Linked DNA regions of Homo sapiens: regions 2, 3, 4 and 5 are each linked to region 1. Evidence: promoter capture Hi-C in 16 types of primary human blood cells and fetal thymus (Javierre and others, 2016). All regions are on one chromosome and are shown on one strand. The core of a region is centred on a gene start or on the middle of the fragment in contact, and the rest is flanking DNA. Distances in the headings are between cores, read along the strand shown.

Region 1 (2,650 bases), core at 96-2,595:
ACTCCTGGCCTCAGGTGATCCATCCGCCTCAGACTCCCAAAGTGTTGGGATTACAGGCGTGAGCCACTGCGCCCGGCCTACAATGTTCATCTTATAGGTTATATTTTTTCAATGCAGAAGAATGTTAGTATTCTCATTCATCAAGCAGCCTCACACAGCATCCTTTACCTGAGAGTAAGCATCAGCTCCCAGGCTTACGGTGACCCTAATCAATATGAAGACACCCTGTTTCAGAAGTCAGTAGGACACCTTTCTATTTCTTGAATCATCCAAAATACAGTAAGGAGGTCGCTGGTGACTTCCCCCATGATGGGAAGTACTAAAAGGCAGAATCCACTTAGTTTTTCATGACTTCATGTTTAGGTTACTTTGGTGATTCACTCCAGGCCATTGGGAGCCCACAGTAATTGTTTCTCATTCCCGTTTCTCTCTTCCTTAAACTTTTCTTTTCCAATTATTTATTCTTTATTAGATCCATGTATTTTTAATAATGAATTGAATTTCATTCTGTAATTGGGCTTCTCAAAGATAATTGACCTCTTCTCTCCCAATTGTTTTCATGCGTATTTTGCAGAGAATGCTTGGAATATTCTGTTCATGAAAGGCACAAAGTACATAAAATATTTTGAGTGATTTTCTTCAAAATAAAAATGATTAGTTTTGATGCTTCAGATGTCTAGAATGCTATGTGCCTTGTACAGGCCCTACGGCATGGAAAGTGCTCAACTGATATTTGTTAAATGAATGAATCTGGAAAACGAAAAATACACGAAATATTTTATTCCTCAACAATGAAGAAAAAGCTTTCAGACTTCCATTTAGACTCGTTTTAACTGGCTGAATTCTTCAATGAAAAGAAAACACGCGTCGCACTGCTAATTTAGCTGTTCCTAAATATATTTCCATCAAATTCTGCTTGGCTGTTTCAACCTTGGGGTTGAAGTTCTTATTTTGATGACACAGAGACGTTCATTGCAGTGGAAATAGCAAGTAGTATTGGCTTCCCCGCCTTCCTCCCTCTAGGATTTCAACTTCTCCTCCTCGAACACCAGCCCTGCTCTTCTAGTAAATCCCACATTACAGAACAGGCTGAGGACGGAGGAGACAAGAGGAAAGTAGGAAACCGGAGCCATGGAAACGGCGGAGCGGAGGCAAAGTGTGAGAGCGCGGGTGGTTAGAAGGGAAAAAACCCTCCCCGGACGACGGCGCGAAGGCGCGCCTCAGATTACGTCACGCACCGGGGTGACGTCACGACCGTGACACGCGGGTGACGCCGTTGCCGCGGCGACTTCTCGTCGTCTCCGCCCCCTTCCCCCGCTCCCCCCCGCACCCCCGCCTAGCGTCCTTCCCCCAATCCCCTCAGGCTCGGCTGCGCCCGGGGCCGCGGGCCGGTACCTGAGGTGGCCCAGGCGCCCTCCGCCCGCGGCGCCGCCCGGGCCGCTCCTCCCCGCGCCCCCCGCGCCCCCCGCTCCTCCGCCTCCGCCTCCGCCTCCGCCTCCCCCAGCTCTCCGCCTCCCTTCCCCCTCCCCGCCCGACAGCGGCCGCTCGGGCCCCGGCTCTCGGTTATAAGATGGCGGCGCTGAGCGGTGGCGGTGGTGGCGGCGCGGAGCCGGGCCAGGCTCTGTTCAACGGGGACATGGAGCCCGAGGCCGGCGCCGGCGCCGGCGCCGCGGCCTCTTCGGCTGCGGACCCTGCCATTCCGGAGGAGGTGAGTGCTGGCGCCACCCTGCCGCCCTCCCGACTCCGGGCTCGGCGGCTGGCTGGTGTTTATTTTGGAAAGAGGCGGCGGTGGGGGCTTGATGCCCTCAGCCACCTTCTCGGGCCAGCTCCGCGGGCTGGGAGGTGGGCATCGCCCCCGTGTCCCTCTCCGTCATGCAGCGCCTTCCTACGTAAACACACACAATGGCCCGGGGGGTTTCCCTGGCCCCCACCCCAGATGTGGGGATTGGGGCAGCGGTGGTTGAGCGGGAGGCTATCAATAGGGGGCGAAACTCAGGGTTGGTCCGAGAAGGTCACGATTGGCTGAAGTATCCAGCTCTGCATCTCTGTGGGGTGGGGGCGGCGGCGGCCTCGACGTGGAGGATATAGGTTAGTTGCTGGGGCTGAGACAACAGCCCGAGTTACTGTCGCGTGTAATTCTTACATGGTCGTGGGGATGATGGGGCTCATCATTTCCTCTCTCCTCTCCCGGACTGCCCCCCTTCTCAGTCCGCTGCCCTTTTTCACTTTTCTATTTGGGGATTTCTCTTCACCTGTTTTACCCAGCAAATTATTTTGATTTAGTCTTTACTTTTTCAATCCTAAATCGCAGTTTCCGATGCCTTTTCTGGTCTCTGGTCCTCTGTTCCTAATGTTTGTCAGCGCTCTGTCGCTGATTGGTAACCCCCATTCTATTCCCATCTACCGCCCGCTCATTTTCCAGTTGTCGGACCTGCCTGCCTTCTAACCCCAGCTCCCACTTAAGAGCATTTTTGCACTTCTCTTACCCTGGTCCTCTTGAGGCTCTGTACTTGATCTCACCACTCCCTAACATTGTTGTCTGTTGTTATCTTCACAAATCCTCCTGGACACTTTGGAGCTACTTGTTTTCTGAGCCCAGAAGCTGTCAAGATTCCATCAGGTTTCACTTGGCTCTTTTCGCGCTTGCACT
Region 2 (2,650 bases), core at 1-2,500, 820 kb before region 1:
AAAAATCAATTTTTAAAAAATATTATCTAGCCGGGCACGGTGGCTCACGCCTGTAATCCCAGCACTTTGGGAGGCTGAAGTGGGCAGATCACGAGGTCAGGAGTTCGAGACCAGCCTGGCCAATATGGTGAAACCCCATCTCTACTACAAATACAAAAATTAGCTGGGCGTGGTGGCGCGTGCCTGTAGTCCCAGCTACTCAGGAGGCTGAGGCAGGAGAATCGCTTGAACCCGGGAGGCGAAGGTTGCAGTGAGCCAGGATCGTGTCACTGTACTCTAGCCGGGGCAACAGAGTGAGACGCTGTCTCAAAAAAAAAAAAAAAAAAAAAAAATCTAATTTGGGCATATCTCAGAAGTTCATAAACACAGAAACATTAATATAGTAAAATTTAGTTTATTGCCATGTATTTATTTTAAAAAGCTTTCTTAGTATTTATGTCCATAAAAGCAAACAAAAGCACAAAATTCACAATGTCTAATTTTAGCAATTTACTCAAGAAGTGAAAAAAGCACCATCTATCTCATTTAAAGACATATTTCCAATATAATTTAAATACATTAAAATTGTTTTGATCAATTAGGTACTAAAAACAACTTTAATGATAAGTCAATTGAGAAGAATTTGTCATAGAATTCTTTTAAATATTTTAAAGTTTCTTTTATGCATGCATTTTTGTTACAAACAGGGTAATAAAAAGTTCTTAACTATACCATATACTATTAAGATACACTTCTGAGGGGAAAATAAAAACAGTAAAACAAGTTCAAAGAAAAAAGAATAATGGAAAATTTCCAAATGCTGAACTGGTATTTTTTTACAGGATAGTAGGTATCACATTGCTATGCTATTTAGATTCCATTGATACATTTAAAAATAACACAATTTTGTATTGAAAAAAATTTCTTAATGTCGCTTGCAGACATCCAGAGGGGTATATTATTTTCAAAATTCTTATAGCATTTTCAAAAGTTTAAAAACTCTTTCCTAAGGGATATCTTCTTAATCTTCTTTAACCTTTACGTGTACATCTTTTCTATGTTGTACTGTATTTTGTTTAAAGAGAATATTAGGCCGGGCATAATGGCTCATGCCTGTAATTCCAGTATTTGGGGAGGCTAAGGTGGGAGGATCATTTGAGCCCAGCAGTTTGAGACCAGCCTGGGCAACATGGTGAAACCTCATCTCTACAAAAAAATTGACAAATTAGCCAGGCATGATGGTGTACACCTGTTGTCCCAGCTACTTGGGAGAAGGCTGAGGTGGGAAGATCACCTGAGCCTGGGGAGGTAGAGGCTGCAGTAAGCTGTGATCACACCATTGCACTCCAGCCTGGTTGACAGAGGGAGACCCTGTCTCAAAACAAAAACAAAAAAAGAGAAAATTAAAAACTTCTTGGCTGGGCACAGTGGCTCATGCCTGTAATCTCACAACTTTGGGAGGCCGAGGTGGATGGATCACCTGAGGTCAGGAGTTCAAGACCAGCCTGACCAACATGGTGAAACCCCGCCTCTACGAAAATTACAAAAATTAGCCAGGTGGTGTGGCACGCACCTATAATCCTAGCTACTCAGGAGGCTGAGGCAGGAGAATCACTTGAATCCAGGAGACAGAGGTTGCAATGAGCCGAGATTGTGCCATTGCACTCCAGCCTGGGTGACAGAGTGAGATTCTGGCTCAAAAAAAATAAAATTAAAAAAATCTTAATTTCAAATAGAAATTTCACATACTAAGTACCAAAGAGGTTCCGAATAAATCTGCACACTCACATTAGTGTAATTCTTATCTTGGCATACGCTTCTTCCTGGTTAGGGCTAGATCCTTCCAAAAGACAATACATTCAGAGTTTTTGTAATTCTCAACAATAAGTACTGGGATGGATAATTCAGTTTTAGGCTTTATTCAAAAGTTACTTGTGACTAAAACTGTAAGTATAAAAATAATTTTTTAAAGGAAGGGATAAATGTACAAACTCTTAGCAAGTAGAGAAATAAGAGTTATGGACATCTTCTAGTGAGTTGCCTTAACTCATAAGTACTGGTACTCTTAACCCTAGTTAGTTACAGTGTAGCCAAGCTTTTAAAAAAGAAAAGGAGAAAAAGAAAAAAACAGCTATTTTCACAAGCTTCTTACCAGCTATGATTGTTGTTGCTTGTCGCCTCACATTATTTTTATCCATGTATTCACCATAGTCTATTTTCCCTTCCAAATAAATTCGAGACCTGATATAAATAAAATGTACAGTTTTTAGTTGAGATCTTAATATGCTTTATAAGAGTCAGGTCAGGGTGGTACTGAGTATATGACAAGGATGAAATATATAATCATATATAAGCTAATTTTTGCTACCACTTCTCAAGGTTCAGGATTAGGAGTACTGAAACAGAGTGTCCAAACAGACTTGGTAACATCTAGGTAAAACAGACAATGTTTTCATCTGTCAGCTATTTCTCTTACGGAAGTTAAAAAATAAAACAAAACAGTTCAAAGGGAAATTTAGTGGCAACATTTAAATCTCTAGGAATAATTTCCAATGTATCATTTTCCTTGACCTTTGATTTTGGAGTCCCTAACAGACTTGATTTTCACTTATTTATCAATTATTTTCTATGACCTTAGAAACTTAGATGATTAAAATTCAAAATATGGATT
Region 3 (2,650 bases), core at 85-2,584, 780 kb before region 1:
AGCTAATATTGAAAAGAAATTATTTTCACTCCTTACACCTGCCATTTATAAATATCACCCTCTCCTCCCTTCTCCTCCCCACCCACCCAATAGCTAACAGCAGGTAATTACAATTTAGCATCACCTGGCTATCATAATGATCCTTAAACAGCCTCTAACATATCTTGACTGGAGTTTGTATCCCTGACAGAGACACAGCTTAGCTCTGTGCCAAACACACCTGCCCTAATTCAGGCATCTCCCTCCTGCAGCTGTTAGCTGTTAGCAGTTAAAGCTTCTAGGGAATTGAACAAAAATTTAAACTGACAAAAGAAAGGCTAGAAAGATCAACAAACCATAGAAACAGATATTGATCACTGGAAAACAGCAATGGCTTCTGCCAAAAATGCCTTATATTGTAAAATGCTTTTTAATATCTTTAGTACACATTATTTAATTTCTTTCTCAGAGAAGCCCCTATGAGAAGGATGGAAAACTCTTTGAAGAAAAAAACAACTATTATACAATCAAGCTGTCCCTCTTCTCTTCCAGTTATATAGCCAAAGGAAATAAAATCACTATCTCAAAAAAATACCAACACACCCATATTCATTGCAGCATTATCCTCAACAGCCAAGATATGGAAACCACCTAAATAGCCATGGACAGATGAATAAAGAAAATGTGGTGAATACACACACACACACACACACACACACACACACACACACAATAGAATATTACTCAGTCATAAAAAAGGAAAGGCTGCCATTTGTGATAACATGGATGAACCAGGGGGATATTAAGTGAAATAAGCCAGGCACAGAAAGACAGATACTACATGATCTTACTTATATGTGGAATCAAAAACAGTTGATCTCCTAGAGGGAGGGAGTAGAATGGTGGTTACCAGGATCTGGAAAGGCAGGGGAAATGGGGAGATGCTGATCAAAGGGTACACACTTTCAGGTATAAGATGAACAATTCTGGGGACCTGATGTACAGCATGGGTGCATATGGGTGTGGTAAATTTTTGGTAATCATTACACAATGTATAGGTATATCAAAGGAAAAAGGCCTCACTGATATCACATTATAGAAGAAAACTATGTGAGAGGCAGTCCATGAAAAAGGAAAATGATACACTCATGCCCCTCAAGGAGGCTTCAGAGGGACTGCAAATAGGGAATTATTTACATGATAAACATGGGCCCAAAGAGAGACAGGAACCAAGGCCAGCTTGATGAGTTTGAAACAAATGTTATTTCCCTTCTCTTTATAGTCTTTGCTACCTGTCACCCCTCTTCCATTTCCCTCTTTTCACAGATCTCTCCACCACTTTCTCCTAATTCCTTCCCCATTCCCAGCCAGAACTCCTGAGGAGGGTAATCCAAATGAAAACTAACTGGGGAGACTTCAAAGTGTTTTTTCAGCTCAAAGCCTTCTCATGCTCCAGCCCTTTGTAGGTGGGCACACCAATTCATCCTTCCTTGGCCCTTCCCTACAGCCTCCCACCCACACAAACTATCCCAGATAATTCAACAGGGGGTAAAATATTGCTCACAAAATGCAGTAACTCACTGCCCACCTTTGTCAGAGATTCAGTATCCTACAGGGGCCAGTAAAAACAGAATCATCAAAGAAAAAGGAGAACTCATAGGTTACCAGTAATGCAATTATTATCAACTGGGATTCTCAGCCTAGGAGTGTCTTGTTTACAAATCAGCAAGCCAGATGATAGATTTCTTTTCTATAGCCTTGGTGTTGATGAATTTCCCCTCACATGCCATGGCTTGTCATTCCTGCCTCTCCAGGCAGCTAGAGGCTGGCTTTGCTCTCAGTAAAACAGGACTGACTCAAAACACTGGCTATATTATTGTCCTGTAGACAGGGCACAGGGGCTGGTTTATTAGGTATTACCCAAGTAGACCAGGTTTTCTTTTTTTTTTTCTATCACCTGCTGCTTTTTCTCTCTCCCTTGCTATAATTCTTGATTACCCTTATTTATGACTACATTGTTTGCCTAGGGAGGCAGCTATGCCATTGCAATGGTTGAGGTCTTATGTTATCGGCAGTAATACTGTTAGAAACTTGCACCATTCACCTTTTCATGTATTGTTACTCAGAAGATAATGATTGTGGCTAAGTCTTCAGAATAAGAAAGGTGTAACAATGAGTACAAAAAAGATATCCCAAATTTGGACAACTAAATAATAAGAATTGCATAGTTGCTGATCTGGATGACCCAAGGGAATCCCTAGAGGTGCTACCTATGGCCTCTGGCCCATGGCCTCACTATTTTTTTGGTCACATTGTAGCCTTTTCTTCATTTTTAGCCTCTTTCCATTATGAAAAATTTCATCTCTGCTTCAGTATATGTTAATCCCACAGGCATCCATCCCAGCATAAAGCTTCAGGTGATAGTTGAGATGATGTGTCAAAAGGGGGACCCATGTAATCTGTGGCAATAAGAGGAAAAGGGGAGGGTTTCCCCCTTAATGCCTAACATATAGTAGGTGTTCAATAAATTGTTTTTGGATGAATTTGGGGAAATAAATTAATATATTTCAATCATGTTTAAAATACTCCATATTTGACTTTTTAAAAAAAATTTGAATTTTTTTCTTAATGTGTCAGGAGTTGCTGCACAGGGGGAAAGCGAAGTTCCCAG
Region 4 (2,650 bases), core at 50-2,549, 720 kb before region 1:
GAGGTGAGCCTTTAGCTTTGTTAACAGGGAAGAGGGCAGCCTTTAGTCTAGAATTAATTTTGACTCACTACTGAGGCAATACCTTTCTGAGGACACTACCCAATGCCCCATGTCTGAAGAGGATTTTCTACTCTAATTGGTTTGAACACGAACTATTCCTGGCTTTGTGAGAGGACTGACTCTCCTGAGACTGTCCCGCCTGCTCACTGGTAGGTAACTCAACCTCTATCTCGGGTGGTGGTTTCTCACATGCATGCACCTGTCAGTACTCAGCTGAAGATTCCAGAGGACACCTCCGTAAACCTCTAGCTTGGTTCTGGGTGCGGCTCTCCTCTCCATGGGGCTCTCTTGTATCCTGCCTTGCAATTCTAGCTGCCTTGATTTCTCAAATTCTCAAAGACCCCTCAACTGAGGTAGGGCATGGGCTCTGTGTGGGCTCCCTCTCCGCAGGCTGTGGCCTCTCTCCAGCAGTCACCTCGGGCAAGCATCAGGCTCACTGTGTTCAACTTCTTGCTCTCTGGACTCACTGTCCTATGCTGCTTGTCTCATACCAATGTCTCATATAGTTGTTTCAAAGATTTTGTCCAATTTTTAAGGTGTTTAAGGTATAAAGCTGGTGCTTTTTGCTACATCTTGGCCAAAAGTCTCACATTAACATTCAAAAATCAATTCATTTTATTGCTTTGACAGATTAAATGAGGAAACTTTATTATCTCAATAGATGCTGGAAGAGTACTTGATAAAATTAAATATCTAAGATATTTAACATGAAAGATAAAAATGCTTAGCAAACTGGGAATAGAAAGGAACTGCCTTAATCTGATAAAGGGTGTCTATAAAAAAAGAAAGCACATTAAATACAAGCATGAAGCAATGAAGACTTTCTCTCTAAATCAGAAATAAGAAAGACGATGGGGACTCCTGTTACTGCTACTTCTATTTAACCATGTACTGAGGTCCTATCCAGTGCTCTAAGTAAAATGAAGGATTGTAAGGATAAGTATTTGAAGAGAGAAAACAAACCTTGCACTATTTGCATTGGCCATGACTAAATCTGTAGAAAATTTGAAAGAATTCATTGAAAGAAAGTTAGAATAATTAATAATAATTTAATTAGGTTGCTGATTCAGCATTGATATAAAAATCAATTATATGTCCATCTACTAAATCAGGTAGAAAATGAAATTTTAATAGATATTATTTAGAATAGCATAAAAATTAAGATAACTGGGAATATATCCAGCAAAAGACAGGATATTCCAGAGAAAACTATAAAACTTCATTGAAAGACATTGAAGACCTAAATAAATGAAGAGATATACCCCGTTCATATGCTAGAGGAGTCAATATTGTAGAAATGTCATTTCTCTCCAAATTGATCTATGGGTACAATGCAGTGAGATCAATATTATAACATTTTTATGTGGAATTTAATAAAATAAACATTCTAAAATATTTATAGAACTCAAATGAGCTAAGAATAGCCAAGAGACTGTGTAAAAAGAGAAAAACATAGAACTTATTATAAAACTATAATAAGAGAAGCAGAGTATTAGTATAAATATGAGAAAATGGAACAACAATAGAAGAAAGAGACTAGAAACATTTACATGTATATAGACATGATGTATGGCAGAGGTTTATTGAAGATCAATGGGGGAAAATGGAGATTTCAATAAATGGCGCTTGGACAACTGGCTTTCTATTTGGAAAGAACATAAAATTGGAGCTTTACCTCCATCATTCACAAAACTCACTTATAAGTGGGGGTATTTCCTTTTTAAAGAAAAATGGAACTATGTTGCAAATCTTTTCACCTATTTTTCCCATGTCAATAGATAGAAAATAATACATATATAAAATAGATATGACTTTTAATAAATGTACCAAAATTTATTCAGTCTGATTAGTTCATTGCAAATATTTTACTATTATACAGTGAGCATAGTTGTATAAGAGATCCTAATTTTCACACATTCTATACTCCTACAGCTTCTTTCATACACTGAATGTGCTGCTTTTAATAAGTGAACATTTTGAGCTATTACACGGCAGCTACACTGCCTTTATTGTATTGCATTTGCTTTTATTTTTATAAAGAACTGTGCAAAAACGAAACAAATGAATTTGCTGCTACTAGTGATAAGCGGCACAGTATCGTATACTTTTAAATAGGCACAAAGATAAAAAGCACTTGGCATTGTGAGTGTGGCTAATCTTGAGCGCACTCACATACTCACTGAACTCAATCCATTCAGTGGTACTCAGTCATCAGAGAAAAGAACAATGGTAAAGAACATGAATAAAATACTCGGAATACATATTATTAAAGACTTGGTATAAAGGAGATGTATAATTAGACATTTTATCTTTCTCTTTTAAATTCCTCTGGAACAGAATCTATTTTTTTTTTTTTAGCATTCACATATCCACTTTCACCAGTGTTTTTCAGATTTCCATTATGTAAAAAAGGACTGCCTACATTATATATTCATCAGGTTATTCCAGTAGGATAAATTCCTAGAAATACAGTTAATAGGGCAGAAGGTATGCATATATTTTAGACACTTTATGTATACTATGCCAAATTGCTGAGACAGGATGTTCCAATCTATATTCCCATCAGAAACACACACCACCACTAAGCTTT
Region 5 (2,650 bases), core at 60-2,559, 610 kb before region 1:
TCACCTGGTCTATTCCTTTACTGTTGAATGACTACCCATTAAGATTTTAACTTAAAAAATTTAAATAATTGACGTCATTTATTATAAATGTAGGGTTAGTTTTTAAAACTAGAATTAATGAATCAGAGGAAATATATTTGAGGTTCCAGATGCATTTTTCCAAATTTTTTAATTAAAAGCTTATAACCAATTTATGTTCCCACTATCTTCACTGGATAGTGCCTCTCATAGCACCCTTGCCATCAATAAGTATTGTTTTGCCCAATGTCTACTTATTTAATTGCTGGGAAAATAGTATTTCATTTTTTCAGTTTAAATTTCTTTGGTTATGAGTAAAACTATTTTTTCATCTATCCAGCCATTTTCCTCTTCCATAGAAATTTGCCTGTCTTTTACTTGTATTTTTATTCTATTTTCCCAACTTGCTTTTTATGTTTATTTTTATTTTTAAAATTCTATAAACTTACCTAAATGACTAAAGGATCAATCATTTTAGAAGGATGATCTACTAACTGGATTCTGTTGATGTTTTAATGCTTTTCTTGTCAGTTTGATACATGCTCTTTATGTAGTAAGGATGGTAATCCTTTGACTTATTTGTTGCAAATATTTAGCACTTGGTTTACAATATGTTTCGAAATAAAAGTAAAGAAAAAAACCTCTTGAATTTTATGTAGTTAAATCTCAGGCATATTCTTGGAGAGTCCTCTATCTAGTGATCAAAATTTATTTATATTTTCTTGGAGTTTTCTATGGTTTCATTTTTTATATTAATCTCTTAAAACTCACATATAATTATTGTTCTGTATCAAAATGTACCCAAATCTGTCCAACCTTAAGGTCTTCACTGAAGCCATTCCATTCACTTATCACCTAACTCCTTCTCACCTTCCTCCTCTCAGCTGAAAGGTGGCTTCACTCAAGAGACCTTCCCTGAGCCATCTGTTTAAATTAGGTTCCTTCTGTTGCCCTCTTTAATAGATTCCTTAACCTGTATGGCATTCATAATAATCTGTAATTATGTATTTAGTTCTTTAATTGTTTAATGCCCCCCATCTACTGTATTCTAAATTATATGAGAGCAGAAACAGTATTATTCTTTCTTACAGAATATCCATATCTTTATTTATAAAGTGCCTGGCATAAAATAAATAAAGGTTGAATGATTGAATGAGCCATGAACTTCCTTTGCTTTCTGCCCTCCCACATACAAAATTACATTTGTCTTTGTTCAAACTTAATAGTACAACCACTTTCCTCTGCTGCAGACTCAGGGAGCTTATGTTCACTCCTCCCATCCACAGCTCATCCATCCACCCGTGCTTGGGATGGCACCCCCATCTTCCCGTCCCCGAGAAATCTGCCTCATCAGTCCTTTCCTCACTCTGGTATTTTCTCCCTCCATCTCCACTGTCTTTTCCTCTTAGCATATAAACCTACTCAAAATCTGCCCACTCTAACATAGAAATATACCAAAATTACCCCCTTTCTTCTCCTTGCATTCCCACTACAATTTTTAAAATAAATCTTATTGGCATAACATTTACATACAACGAAATGCACCCATTTTTAGTGTGCAGATTGATGACTTTTGATAAATGCGTATGTTCCTATACTGGCCACAATGAAGATACAGACATTTCCATTGCCACCCAAGTGTTCTCTTATTCTTTTCCAGTCAGTTCCTACATTCCCTCAGTCCACCCCAACACCAGCCAATCACTAATCTTCTTTCTACCACTGTATGTTAATTTGTATCTTTTAGAGTTTTACATAAATGGAATTGTACAATATAGAACCTTTTGTTTCTGGCTTTTCTCTCAACACGGTTTTTTTTTTTTTTAAGATTTATCCATTGTGTGCTTCAGTAGTTTGCTCTTATTGATGACTAGTAGCCCATTGCATGGGTTTACTGCAATTTTTTTCATTCATTCACCTGTTGACAGACATTTAGGTTGTTTCAGGCTTTTTGCCATTATAAACAAAGGTGCATTCAACATTTGTATACAAGTCTTTTTGTGATATATGTTTATGTTTTTATTTCTTTTGGGTAAATACATAGGAAAGTGATGGCTGGGTTTTATGTAAGTGTGTTTAATTTCTTAAGACACTGTCAAACTAGTTTCCAAACTGGTTGCACTCCTTTACATTCCTGGAAGCAGGATATGAGACTTCCAATGGCTCCACATCCTCACCAGCACTTGGTATGTTAGTTTTAAAACTGAAGACATCCTAATATATCTAATCATCTGTGGAAGATATTGACAAAGCATCTGTTGAAATGTTTTGCCCATTTAAAAAATTCTTCTTATTGAATTGTTAAAGTTCTTTATATATTTTAGATACAAATCCCTTTCAGATATATTTTGCAAATATTTTCTTCCAGTCTATGTTGTGCTTTATTTTTATAACAGTGCTTTTTGAAAAGCAAAAGCTTTACATTTGGTGAAGTACAATTTATTGATTTTTTTTCTTTTATAGTTCATATTTGTAGGGCCCATTTAAGAGTTTTTTGCTTAATGCAATATCATTCCGATTTCTCCGATTTTTTTTTTCTTGCAGAAGTTTTATAATTTTTATTTTTATTTTTTGGTTAGGTCTATTACCTATTTTAAGTTAATATTTGTGAACTGTGTGAGGTAGGGGTTGA

What was found. Contacts are between HindIII fragments. The CHiCAGO score rates a contact against its expected background, and 5 or more counts as called.
Region 2: a contact is called between a fragment that was not itself captured here and the fragment with the promoter of BRAF in region 1, in 3 of 17 cell types (megakaryocytes, total B cells and naive CD4 T cells). The highest score is 7.7, in megakaryocytes.
Region 3: a fragment that was not itself captured here is called in contact with the fragment with the promoter of BRAF in region 1 in 1 of 17 cell types (total CD8 T cells); the score reaches 5.4 in total CD8 T cells.
Region 4: a fragment that was not itself captured here is called in contact with the fragment with the promoter of BRAF in region 1 in 2 of 17 cell types (megakaryocytes and endothelial precursors); the score reaches 8.6 in megakaryocytes.
Region 5: a fragment that was not itself captured here is called in contact with the fragment with the promoter of BRAF in region 1 in 1 of 17 cell types (endothelial precursors); the score reaches 7.0 in endothelial precursors.

What each region holds. Positions count from the first base shown.
Region 1 is chr7:140,923,624-140,926,273 of GRCh38, reverse strand. BRAF (B-Raf proto-oncogene, serine/threonine kinase) reads left to right here and starts at 1,345. Exons shown (of 18, transcript NM_004333.6): 1 at 1,345-1,708. The coding sequence starts at 1,571. LOC105375536 (a long non-coding RNA gene) reads right to left here and starts at 1,182. Exons shown (of 5, transcript XR_002956518.2): 1 at 1-1,182. RefSeq lists a silencer at 1,453-1,522. The HindIII fragment of the contact is 2,638 bases long and covers 806-2,650 here.
Region 2 is chr7:141,745,066-141,747,715 of GRCh38, reverse strand. It overlaps SSBP1 (single stranded DNA binding protein 1), which reads right to left. Exons shown (of 7, transcript NM_003143.3): 6 at 2,132-2,220. Among named protein-coding and RNA genes, the nearest start is that of SSBP1, 8.0 kb to the right of the region's middle. RefSeq lists a silencer at 164-306. The HindIII fragment of the contact is 1,653 bases long and covers 424-2,076 here.
Region 3 is chr7:141,705,724-141,708,373 of GRCh38, reverse strand. It overlaps WEE2-AS1 (WEE2 antisense RNA 1), which reads left to right. Exons shown (of 4, transcript NR_199841.1): 4 at 2,617-2,650. It overlaps WEE2 (WEE2 oocyte meiosis inhibiting kinase), which reads right to left and starts at 21. Exons shown (of 12, transcript NM_001105558.1): 1 at 1-21. The HindIII fragment of the contact is 2,116 bases long and covers 277-2,392 here.
Region 4 is chr7:141,643,861-141,646,510 of GRCh38, reverse strand. All of the region lies in intron 13 of AGK (acylglycerol kinase), which reads right to left. Among named protein-coding and RNA genes, the nearest start is that of DENND11, 57 kb to the left of the region's middle. The HindIII fragment of the contact is 2,698 bases long and covers 1-2,648 here.
Region 5 is chr7:141,537,580-141,540,229 of GRCh38, reverse strand. The region is part of intron 1 of AGK-DT (AGK divergent transcript); the gene reads left to right. Among named protein-coding and RNA genes, the nearest start is that of AGK-DT, 12 kb to the left of the region's middle. The HindIII fragment of the contact is 2,255 bases long and covers 182-2,436 here.